2 separate regions of the Homo sapiens genome follow, and region 2 is linked to region 1. The links are contacts of gene promoters, found by promoter capture Hi-C in blood cells and fetal thymus (Javierre and others, 2016). All regions are on one chromosome and are shown on one strand. The core of a region is centred on a gene start or on the middle of the fragment in contact, and the rest is flanking DNA. Distances in the headings are between cores, read along the strand shown.

Region 1 (5,826 bases), core at 1,833-4,332:
TCTCCATGTTTGACAAGAAAAATGCTTAAGAAGGGGTCAGGGCTGGGGATTTGGGGTGGTGGGTGGAGAAGGGAATGGAGAAGCTGGGAGAGGGGATTGGGGTGTGGATCAGGGGGCCACAGCCCCATCTTTAGTGGGAAGAGACAAGGAGTGGGTGTAGGGGAGAGGTGGTGAGGGTCTCAGAGACTGGACCACGCAGGATGACGGTGCTTGGGTATGAGGCCAGGGTGGACGGTGGGCCCAGGCTGTCCCGGGAACCCAGAGAGGCTTTCCCAGGATGGAGTGCAGGGTGCGCAGGGCACTGTAGTTTGGTTGAAACCCAAAGCTCTGGTCAGCCAGGAGACCCTGGCAACTCGGGTGGCCTCTCTGGGCCCAGGGCCCTCCCCTGTGGAGTGGAGGCCCGGATGGTGGAGTGAGCATGGAGGTACGGATTGGCCACGGCTAGGTGAGCACGTGTGGCTGGGGCTGAGCCATTGCTTGGGAAAAGGTCTTCCCACTCTCTACGACAGGGTGTCTTTGACAAGGTGCAGATTGGACTTGGAGGCCTGCCAGTCTGTCACCACTGGGGTAGGGGCTGGGGAGCTGGACCCTGAGTGGCAAAGGCGGTGCCCTGGGGGAAGGGCAGCCTCCCTGCATGGGAATCAGCGGCAATGCCGCTTTCTACTCCAGGCCTTCCCAGGTGTTGACTCTCCCATCCCCCCAGCCACATCCTCCCCACCGCGGGCAGTGGCAGTGGCCTTTCAGTTTACCCTTAGCTGTGCTCCTCTGCTCATGTGGCCCCTGCCTGGGCTGCTCTCCCTGCCTGAATCTTCCTGATCTTTGAAGCCTGGCTGAGATATTACGTATCTCCATGAAACCCACCACCAGGTCCTCCCAGCCCTTGGGACTTCTCCTGGCCCATGCCATATTCTGCCTTGTGGTGGGACGAGGGTGTCTGTGTGGCTGTCTCTCGATGTCTGTGGCTTCCTGGGCATGGAAACTGGGCTGTGTGCATTTGGGTACATGAACCTCCCCCTGCCCCACAGTGAGCCTGGCCCAGTGCTTGGCCTGGGGAAAGGCAGGGGCCTGTGACTTGGCTGCCTTTGCCTGTTCCCCGTGTCAAGCATCCTTTCTGTGGGGTGGAGAAGCCCACTCATCCTGTAATCGTCACCAAGTCATATTTTTGTCCCCATTTTAGAAATGATGAAGGTAACTTTCCTAGAGTCATACAGCCAGTGAGTGGCCCAGTTGGGAATTTTTTTTTTTGAGATGGAGTTTCACTCTTGTTGCCTAGGCTGGAGTGCAATGGCGCCATCTCGGCTCACTGCAACCTCTGCCTCCCGGGTTCAAGTGATTCTCCTGCCTCAGCCTCCCTAGTAGCTGGGATTACAGGTGCCTGCCACAATGCCTAGCTAATTTTTGTATTTTTGGTAGAGACGGGGTTTCACCATGTTGGCCAGGCTGGTCTTGAACTCCTGACCTCAAGTGATCTGCCTGCCTTGGCCTCCCAAAGTGCTGGGAGTACAGGCGTGAGCCATGGCGCCCAGCCCCCAGTCAGGATTTAAACCTGGTCTGTGGGGTACAGAGTCTGGGATCATCACCAAGGCTGGCATCATCACCATTCTGAGAATATGGCCTGTGAAGGGGCCTGGCTGGGGGCTGGCCCATGAGAAGGTCATTCAAAGGGTTGGTTTTCCCTTCCTCTCCCCCAGCTGTCCTCATGCAGGGTTGAGCCCGGCAGGGCCACTTCCCTTTGCCAGCCACCTGGTACTTTGTTGTGTTGAATTAACATTGATTGAGTTCTTGTCTGCCGGTCACTGTTCTAGGCACTGGGGATTAGGGACTCAGTGATCAAAAAATAAATCCTGCCCTGATATTCTCATGAGGAGGACAGAAACTTAGTTAAACATACAGAATGTTGGAAGATGAAAAGTGTGATGAAGAAAACAGTGAAGTGGCTTGAGAGGGACAGGCCTGGGGGGCTGGGAAGGAGGCGGCGAGGGGTTGCAATGTTAATAACGTGGTCAGGGAAGGCCTCACAGAGACGGTGACCTTTGTGTAAAGACCAGAAGGGAGTGGGGGAGTGAGACGTGCAGGTCTCTAGGGAGGGGCCCAGGTGGGAACAGCAAGTGCCAAGGTCCTGTGGCGGCCAGGTGCCTGGGCCAGCGAGGGTCCCAGGTTCTGGAGTGGAGCAGGGTGAGTAGCAGGAGATGGGGTGGGAGTAACTTGGGAGCCAGCTCACGCAGGGCCTTGTGGGCTGCTGTGTGCGTTTTGGCTTTTGTTCTGAAGAAAATGGGAGCCAGTGCAGGCTCTGAGTGGAGGAGGGAGGAGGTGTGAGTGAGCTTGTGCGAAACAAGATGGAGGTGGTGGCTGGAGAAGGCCCTCTGTCTGTCCACTGGTCAGGTGCTGGGAGAGAGGCAGCTCCAGAGACTGCGGAGTGAGGTCGGGTATGGGCTGGGGCACAGCTGGACAGGTGCCCTCAGGGGACCTCCTGTGAACTAGATGAGGAACAGAGACCTGGGTTCTGCCAGCTCTGCGGCTGAGTTGCTGGATCGTTTTTGCTCATTCTGTGCCTTTGTGCCTTATGTCTTCAGCTATAAACTGGGAACGACAGTCCCAGTGCTGTTGTGAAGACCTCAGGAACTGAGCGAACAACTGTGGGAGCCCCAGAGGTTAAGAGGTTATCACGGAAGGCTTCCTGGAGGAGGGAACCCTTAAGCTTTGAAGTCCAGATAGAACTCAGCCTAGTGGAGGGAATGTGGGTGAGGCTGGTGGAATATGGGAGAGCATCCCGGAGGAAACCTGTGAGCAAAAGCTGGGGGCTGGGTGAAGCAGGACACCAAAGTAATGGGTGTTGAATGGGCCGAGCTGACAGCTCTCTGGGGGAGTGGACGGTGCTGGAGGACACTCCCTTCCACCGGGCACGGAGGGTTTGTTGTGACTTCCTCCCACCGCAGCAGCTGGCAGAGCCGGGGCTGCCCTTTCTGCTGGTGCCTCCTTTCAGCCGCCTCTGTCTGGGGTTCCCTTCGTCTGGCCCCGCCCCTCGGGCTAAGCGGGGCGGGGCCAGGCGGTCCCGGAGGCTGCGGCAGGCCGGACAGCGGGAGCAGGTGGAGGACTGGCGGCGGTCGAGATCGTGCTGCCATGGCTCAGCCTCTGGGTCCAGAGCCTCAGCTCCTACCTCTTCCCTCCTTGCCAGCCCCTGATGCCTGCCAGACTTTTGCCTCTGCTGGAGCCCCTGCCTGACCAGCTTCCCCTCCCTGTCTGGTTGGGATTTGGGGGCTGAGCTGTCTGGGGTCCCAGGGCCAACCAATGCAGTGCCGGCTCCCGCGGGGCCTGGCTGGAGCCCTCCTCACCCTCCTGTGCATGGGGCTCCTGTGTCTGCGGTACCACTTGAACCTGTCCCCGCAGCGGGTACAAGGGACCCCCGAGCTGAGCCAGCCGAACCCGGGGCCCCCTAAGCTACAGCTACACGATGTCTTCATTGCAGTGAAGACGACCCGGGCTTTCCACCGCTTGCGCCTGGAGCTGCTGCTTGACACGTGGGTTTCCAGGACCAGGGAACAGGTGACAAGTGGGTGACATTGGGCCCTGGGGGTGGCCCCTGGCCTAAGGGGTTCTCAGAGGCCTTTCTACTGGGCTGGGGTCCCTGACTGCCTCATGGGAGAAGCTGCTCAATACCTGCCTAATCAGGGATCCTCTTCCTCTCTCCTTCTTCCGGGCTTTAGGGGCTGCCTGCGGCCCTGCCCGTGCCCTGTACTGGTCCTGACTCCAGGTGCACCCAGGTCCTACCGCTCCACCACTTTTGGGGGCCAGGCTGGGCCCCTGCTCCAGGCTCCCGGGTCCCTCCTGGGGGTTCTTCTATTCCTAGCCGCTCCCGTGGGGGCTTCGCTCCTAGCCACCCAGGCCCAGCCTGGCATCAGGGGTAATGGTGGGTGTTGGGCAGCTGGGGTGGAGGCCTCCAAGAGGTCCTGACCCAGACCCGTGCCCAGGCCAGGCTGTCCCACCCAGGCCCTAGGTGCTGTCCTGCCCGGGCTCTGAGGGTGGAGGACGGGAGGAGAATGGTGGGGTCTGTTCTTGGGGGAGGCATCCCTTCGGCCTTCCCGATAGCCCCTGCCGCTGTGTCTCTGCTGCCCCGGGTGTGCCGAGGCCGCCATGTCTGGCCTCCTGTGTTGGCTTCCTGCGGACTGCTTCCGAGGGAGGGAAGGAGAGCGCATGCCACGAGGGTGGCGGCTGAGGCAGTGGTGGGCCGGAGGTTGGGGAGGCCTGCCTGGCACGTGGGATTGTGTGTGTGTGTGTGTGTGTGCTCACACGCACGGAGCTGGAGTGTGCTAGATGTGTGTGACAAGAGGCATGTCTGTCACATGGCTGTGCGGCTCCGGCGAGCCAAGTCCCTTCCAGCCCTTTCCCTCCTCGCATCCAGTATCTTCCTTAAGCAAAGTTAGTGATGTCGGTGTTAGGGACCGTTGATGGGGGAGGTGGAGAATGGGTACACACACACACACACACACACACACATCGGTCCCCTCTTTGGCGGCTGGCTCAGTGGGAGGAAGTGACTGAGTCTTTGGAGATAGTCGAGACCTCCTGGAAGACCAAAAGGAGGGGGAGAGGATGGCTGGCAGAGGCCAGGCCCTCCTGGGGAGGGGCACCCTGCCCTGATTTCTGCCCTCGTACTTGGGATTAACTCTTCCCCAGCTGGCCCCCAGCACCTCAGCTCTTCTCTGGGCCCCACACGGCTTCTCATCTTGGGGAGATCCTGGTTCTTCCTGCGGAAGCAGCCAAGGCGGGCCCTCCCGCAGGCCTTCCTGTTTATGCGTCTGTGTACCCGGGAGCGTGGCCTCACGTGGCCCACGGCCCTTTCCTGTCTTATCTCCATCACCGCGGTGGTGCCCTTGCCCCGGATGAGGAAACTGAGGCCAGAGAGAGGAAGTGCTGGCTGGCGTGGTGTCACGCAGAAGGCCTGAGGGGACAGAGCCCAGTGGGACCTAGAACCTTGCTCCTGGTTGGGTGCTTTTCTCCCCTGCTGAGACTTGGGAACCCTGTGAGGACTGGGTCACTGGGCTACAGGAGTCGCTACCCCACGTCTCTCACCCTTTGGCTCACTTCTCTCTGTGACCTCAGCCAAGGCCCTCCCCTTTCGGCCCGCAGTTTCCCCATCTGCACGGGGCAGGAGTGTCTGGACCGGGCCTGAGCTGGTTAACTGCAGCGCTGGGCGCCCGCCTGGCTGGTTAAGGGCGGTCGGGTGGCAGGTGGGCCTTGCGGCAGGGGCCGGGACTCGTGTGCCGGCCTTTGTCCTGGGCTGAGGGGGTGGGCTGGGGGAGGCGGGTTTTGTGCTCAAGGCGAGCCTTTCTCCTCCCTATGGTCCCCTTGTTGGGGGGAGAGGTGGCAGCAGCCCCACCACTCCCCTCCTCTGCAGCAGATGGTCCCCGGCCACCCCTCCCCTGCCCCAGCAGGCTGCGTGTCCCTTTGTTTCCCGCGGCTGCCTGTGAAGTTTTCACCATTGTCAGGTCCCCTCCTTAAACAAGTCAAATGCAGCCCTTGGCTCCAAAGAAACTCTGCCCATCGCTCTGTGCCAACCTTAGGATTCCCAGGGACTGAAAGCGCCAGCCTCACTGCCCTCTCCTGTGCCCCCGCCCCCTCTGGACCTGGACTCCCCTTCCCGGCTCTCTCCCTCACTCTGTTCATGGCTGCTGGTGTTTTGTTTTGTTTATTTTGAGACAGAGTCTCACTCTGTTTTCCAGGCTGGAGTGCAGTGGCACGATCCTGGCTCACTGCAACCTCCGCCTCCTGGTTTCAAGTGATCCTCAGCTTCCTGAGTAGCTTGGACTACAGGCATGCGCACCACGC
Region 2 (5,826 bases), core at 3,327-5,826, 710 kb after region 1:
AATTCATGCAGAATCACTCTCAATTATTTAATTTCCCCTAAAATCTCCTATTTACCCAATTGTTGGATTCCATCCAACAATTCTGCTACTACACCCTATAAGTGAAGGGGCTGTGATGGGGCCCAGGCAGAAGGAGAACCCCCTGGCTGTCAAGACACAGTGGCAAAGGGGCTTGGGCCCTGCATTGGGGATGATCAGCCCTGGCGCTGTGCGTGGAATGTTGCTGCTGTCCCTGGCAGGGAGCCGTGGCTCATCCGCATGCTGCTCTTCAGGGATGTCGGGACGTGTTCAACCCCAGGATGATTGAACAATTTCTGGGAACAACTTGTCAGCAGCTGCCCCTCCACTCCCCTCTTATCCAAAGCCCCAGTAATCAGCCCCAACAGTCTAGTCCCTGGCTTTGGGAAGCAGCACTGTTAATACTTCCTCTTCCACAGAGCATATGGGTGTAGCTAGGGGTGCAGGCTAGGGGTGGGAGAGGACCCAGGATGAGGTTACCCCATCTGAATGGTCATTGCACATCTCTCAGTAGTAAGCCCATTGCTTGCCCAAAAACTGATATTCAAGAGTTGGTGCTTGTTGAATGAATGAATACACAACCGGAAGGGTAAACCCTATGAGAGTCATTCATTCATTCAGAAGTATTTACGGGGTGCCTCACCATGCAGGGGACTGTCCTAGATACTGGGTGAACAAAAGAGACCAAGTGTCAGTTCTCATGAAGCTTACCTTCTAGTGGAGGGCGACAGATACCATATAAATAAACTAATAAATATGGAATATAGGTGGCCCTCTGCATCCACGGGTTCCACATCTCTGGATTCAACTAACTGCACATTGCAAAAATAAAAAAATAACAATACAACAATAAAAATAATACAGATAAAATACAGTATACCAATATTTCTATAGCATTTCCATTGTATTAGTTATTGAAAGTAATCTAGAGGTGACTTAAAGTATACAGGAGGACGTGTGTAGGTTTTGTGCAAATATTACAACATTTTATATAGGGGACTTGAGTAGCCCTGGATTTTGATATCCATGGTTACCAATCCCCCACGGATACAGAGGGACAGACTGTGTAATCTCTGGTAGTAGTGAACGCTATGAAGAAAGTAAAGTAAGTCAAGGATATTGAGACTGACAGATTGGGGGCGATGCTTAAATTGTGTGTTTGGGAGGGCTCCCCGAAGGCATGACGTTTGAGCTGAGATCTGAAGATCATGAAGGAGAGTCATACAGCCTCATTGGGAACAGTGCGTACAAAGGCCCTGCGGTGGGAACGTTCCCGAGGAGCTTGAAAAACAGTAAAATGACCCAATAGAGTAGATAAAGGTGGGTCCTGGCATTAGCTAAGAAAAGCAGTTCTCAACATGAGCTTGTGTCGGAGTCACCAGGAGGCCTTATGGAAGCAGATTGTGGGCTCCACCTCCAGTGTTCAGCTGGTCAGGGGTGGGGCCTGGGAAAATGCATTTCTTACTAATCCCCAGGTGATGCTGGTGTGCCAGTCCAGGGATCAGAGCATAGGGTATTTGTTCTTTCTGCACCACATCCTCCCCTATTCAACATTGACTACATGCAATCATAGATCATTACTGCTTGATCATCTGCCGCTCCACTGGGCTAGATGGTTCTGTCCACCTCTACGTCCTAGTGCTTAGCAAGCACTCAACAGAATATTTGTTGAATTAATTCCTCAAACAAGGGTTCTACTCTGGGTCTTGCCATTCCACCGTGTGTTCCATCTGCTGCCCTCCCAGAGCTCTGAGCCTTTGCATGTGCTGACCCATCCACCCAGCATTTGCCTTCCCCTGTGTCCACCTCGCAAATTCCTACAAGGCTCTCCTTTCAGAATATCCTTCCCGACTCCCTCTCCATCCACCCAGGGTTAGGAATGCTCCTCGAGGTGTACATAGGGAGTCCCATATCCACCTGTGGCACAGTGACTTGTCCACATGTTGGTCTTCCTTTCTTTACCAAAGATCGTAGATGAGCAGCCCCCAGGTTGAACCGGTCAACAGAGGTTTCTACTGCAGCTACAGTGTTTTAAATTTAAGTTCATTGCCAACACTAACAGGTCAGGGGATTTCACACAAAAATCCAGATTCCTGGCTCCTCTAGAAAAGTGTGCAACCCTGGGCCCGTATTCCCACATTGCCGTGATATCTCACCCAGAGGTAAAGCCTGGGGCTCTGTCATCCCCACCCTTCAGTGGATCCAGCAACCAACACCATGCCTGGCTGATGGTAGGCACTCAAGAAAAGCTAATTAATGAAAATGGAGAGACTATGCTGGATAATGGGGGAAAACAAAGAAACAAACATTGGTCCCCAGAGTCAAGAGATCTGAGGCTGGTTCTGGATCTGGCTGACTTGTTGCATGACCTTGGCCTCTCTGTGGCTCTTTCCTTTCTTCAAATGAATGAGAGTTTCCACTTCCCAGGGTCATGGTTTCATACAGGAGAGAGGATGTGAAGTGCTTAGCAGATGCCTCACATCTAATGCTCAATCAACGCAAGTTATTACGGCAAGGAACTCAATAAGTATTTGCTCTTTAGGAAGGGTGAGAAGGAGTTCAAATCCATCTCTGCTACTCACTAGCTAGGTGACCTTCGGTGTTTCACTTAATCTCATTTGGGCCCTAGTTTCCCCATCTATCAAATGGGGATGATACATGGTTATTGTGAATATCAAATGTAAATGTGAAATTAAACTAATTAATCCCTAAAATCACTTAGAACAAGGCCAGCCTTAAGTCTGTGGTCAACATAGGCCAGCTGTGACTATTAGAGCTGCTCAGAAATGGGATAACTCGAATTGCTCAGGAGCCCCCATGGCTCCAAAATTCTCTGACCACCTTAAACCTAGTGACTCTCATTCAGCTTACCTTCAGTCACAGAAATGTATAGAAGGCCCTTGGGTCCATGAGGTGAAGGGGGACAGAATTCACCATACAAGTGTTTACCATCTCTCTAGAAAGTTCTACAATGCTCTTATGATAATGCTGACTAAAATCACACAGAGTAGCAGCAACAAAAGGGAGACAGTGGGTGGGGAACAGAGAACAGCCCTGGGAGGGAGGTGTGATTATTACCTGCAAGAGTTAAAGAAAGAGGCAAGAAACATGAAAAGTGGCTCAACAGTTAAATACAGGTTTATTTTGGAGCATAAACCTGAGAGGGGCTTCTGGCCAATTTCAGTCAGGAGTGCTCTCTCTTACAGACTAAGAGTATTTAAGGGTTTAGGGCAAGAGAGCTTACCACAGGCTTGGAATGTTTCTGTGTGGAGGAGAAGTTTACTGTGGGGTTGGAATGTCTCCGGTCTGAGGGTGGGTTATGTTGGGGCTGACATCTCTCTGACCAGAGGGGAGGTTATCTTGGGGCTGCATGTCTCTGGTCGGGGGGTGGGTTTATCTTAGGGTTGGAATGTTTCTGATTGGAGATGTCACTTGTGGTTTATGGTCATTCTGACATTAGCCATTAGGCTGATGCCCTTTGGGTTGAATTTAGGCCGTTTTTGATCAAGGAGAACTTTAAAATGGCAGTGCTTGTCCAAGATGGCTATGCTCCGGCTCTGTCATTACCCACCTCGCAAAATGAAGGAACCAAGGCTTCGGAGGCTGCCCTGATGTGTGTCTGTGTCTTAGCTACGTGGAGCTGCCTCGGGAGGGTGACTCACCAAATGGGGTCCTTTAAGGGATTAACAGGGTCACTCATGGTGAACAGGTTGGCCTGGAGGGGAGCCGGCAAGAGGAAGGCAGAAGACCAGAAAGAGGCTTTTTGCTCACTCAGACCTGGATGTCTGAGACAGACTCACGTGATGTCACCAAAGAAGAAAAGCAGTTACGAGAAATGAAGGAGAAACAGACCTTTACCGTAGCGCCAGGAATGAATCCCAAGGAAAGAACATCTCAGACAACTTGCATTTACTCTGGATTCGGGGCTGAAACCATCAGCCATTCATAGAGTGTGTGTGTTTATTCCCCCACACAAGGCTGGCAGCCACTCTGAGATGCAGAGTGGCGGAGAGGTGGAATGTTCTAGGTGTCTGGAGGGAATGTGGAACTTTCGCACAGGCACCTTTGCTGAGGGGCTGCTCTTCCCTTCAGCATCAGCCATCAGAATCCCAGGGGCCCTGAGAAAGTGAGAACAAGGGGTACATTCGGCCAACCAGTGACAGTGATGATAAACCAAATCTGTCCAGATAAGCTTCCGCTCTCCCATCCACCCCACAATCACGTGTGCACCTACTATCTCCCAGGCACTCATACGTTTCTCTCCTTCCATCTCCACAACCACCCCACAAGGCGGGTTCTCCTAGGCCCATCCTGAGGCTGAGGGATGAGGTGACTTGTCCAGGCCAGGGATTTAGGTCTCTGACCCCCTAACCACGTGCAAGAGGCACCCCCAACCCAGTAAACGCGTACAGAGAGCCTCCCTGGGTGACGGGCAAACGAGGTTAGTGATGCATTCTCCTTTTGCAGAGAGTAAATGGACTAAGAGCAAAGTACGACTTCAAGTTTCCGAGTCTCACCGCTTAGCCCCATCAAAGTGTATTTGTTCTCCCTTTGTTCACAAACATCACTTTAATAAAACACCTTCATATTTTAGATTTTAACGCTCATTACATCTTTGAGCTTTTAAAATGAGATTTCCCTGCGGGATGCGGGGCAAGGACTGCACTTCTCCATGCACTTTAATAGCCGCGCTGTGCAGAACCCGGGAACCGGGGAAGCCGCGAGAACCGCGCGAAGTCAGAGCAAGTCAAAACGACCTCTACAGCGGCGGCCTGGCCCACTGCGCAGGCGCCGCTCCAGACCGCCTAGAGCCCAACCTGCCCCATTGTAGGCGAACCCACTTCTAGAAGGACAGCGGGAGTGGCGAATCCCTATTCCTCCCGAAGATGGGTCAAGCCAGACTCTGACCAATCAGAAAGCTTCTCTTGTCACCGCTTCTGACTGCTTGACGTGGAGGCTTCTTTATCTCGGGACTCTCAGGCGCAGCGGGGGCGGGATATAAAGCTGGTTGACGTCAATTACAACCACTCGTCAAGCAGACTGAACTTGAAGAACTGATAACTCTACGAATTGCATCTCAAGAAAAGGCTGTTATCCCAGCTCTCTACTCCCATTGGATTTTTGTGAGACCTTGAGGGTGGGAGCTTTTGGCGGCAACCAATCGAGGGTCAGCGAGGAGGAGGAGGAGGCGGGGCAGGTGGGCTATGGTTGCTTGGAGAGTGCATCCGGCCCGGTACTTGTGATCGGAGGAGAGCCGGATCGTCCTTCCTTGAACCCTCTGGGTAGGGCTGTGCTGAGGGGCTGGGCGGGGAGCACAGGCCGTGTCCGCTCGCTTGCACCTTTTCAGACTGCCGTGTCAGGCCTCGAGCCGGGCCCACCTGGAGCCCTCCCCTGCCCACCCGCCCCCAGCGCCCGATATCCGCCCCCGGCCCAGAAGGGCCGGGCTCGGTCATCCCCAGTCCCGTCGCGGCCACTGACCCTTGAGATCAGCCCTCCCCTCCCCACCTTCCCGTCCCAGGCCAGCCCAGGGCCCGAAGCCCACCCACTCGCGTCTCTAGCAGCCGCTCTTGTCCTCTGGGTACGGCTCGCGGGAGTGTTGGTTACCATGGTGAAGCTGGCAGCCAAATGCATCCTGGCAGGTGAGTCTGAAAACTTGCGCTTGAATACGGTGGTCTCTGGAGTCCAGAGCCTTCATAATTCATCCAGAGCTTTTGTTCACCTAAATTGCCTACCTTTTCCTTTCTCTCTCCCAAAGGCGAGTTACTGCAATTACTGATACAGTAAATTACGTTAGGCGTGGAAGAATGA

Evidence for each region. The method cuts DNA at HindIII sites, captures the fragments that hold promoters and counts their contacts. A CHiCAGO score of 5 or more calls a contact.
Region 2: a contact is called between a fragment that was not itself captured here and the fragment with the promoter of MFNG in region 1, in 5 of 17 cell types (fetal thymus, naive CD4 T cells, non-activated CD4 T cells and 2 more). The highest score is 8.1, in fetal thymus.

Annotation. Positions count from the first base shown.
Region 1 is chr22:37,483,640-37,489,465 of GRCh38, reverse strand. It overlaps MFNG (MFNG O-fucosylpeptide 3-beta-N-acetylglucosaminyltransferase), which reads left to right and starts at 3,082. Exons shown (of 8, transcript NM_002405.4): 1 at 3,082-3,543. The coding sequence starts at 3,289. RefSeq lists enhancers at 1,680-2,189, 2,190-2,701, 2,702-3,211, 3,688-3,737, 4,138-4,197 and 2 more and a silencer at 2,988-3,117. The HindIII fragment of the contact is 3,313 bases long and covers 2,701-5,826 here.
Region 2 is chr22:36,775,505-36,781,330 of GRCh38, reverse strand. IFT27 (intraflagellar transport 27) reads left to right here and starts at 5,212. Exons shown (of 7, transcript NM_001177701.3): 1 at 5,212-5,657. The coding sequence starts at 5,624. RefSeq lists enhancers at 3,820-4,383, 4,911-5,170, 4,949-5,512 and silencers at 5,411-5,460, 5,591-5,650. The HindIII fragment of the contact is 727 bases long and covers 4,213-4,939 here.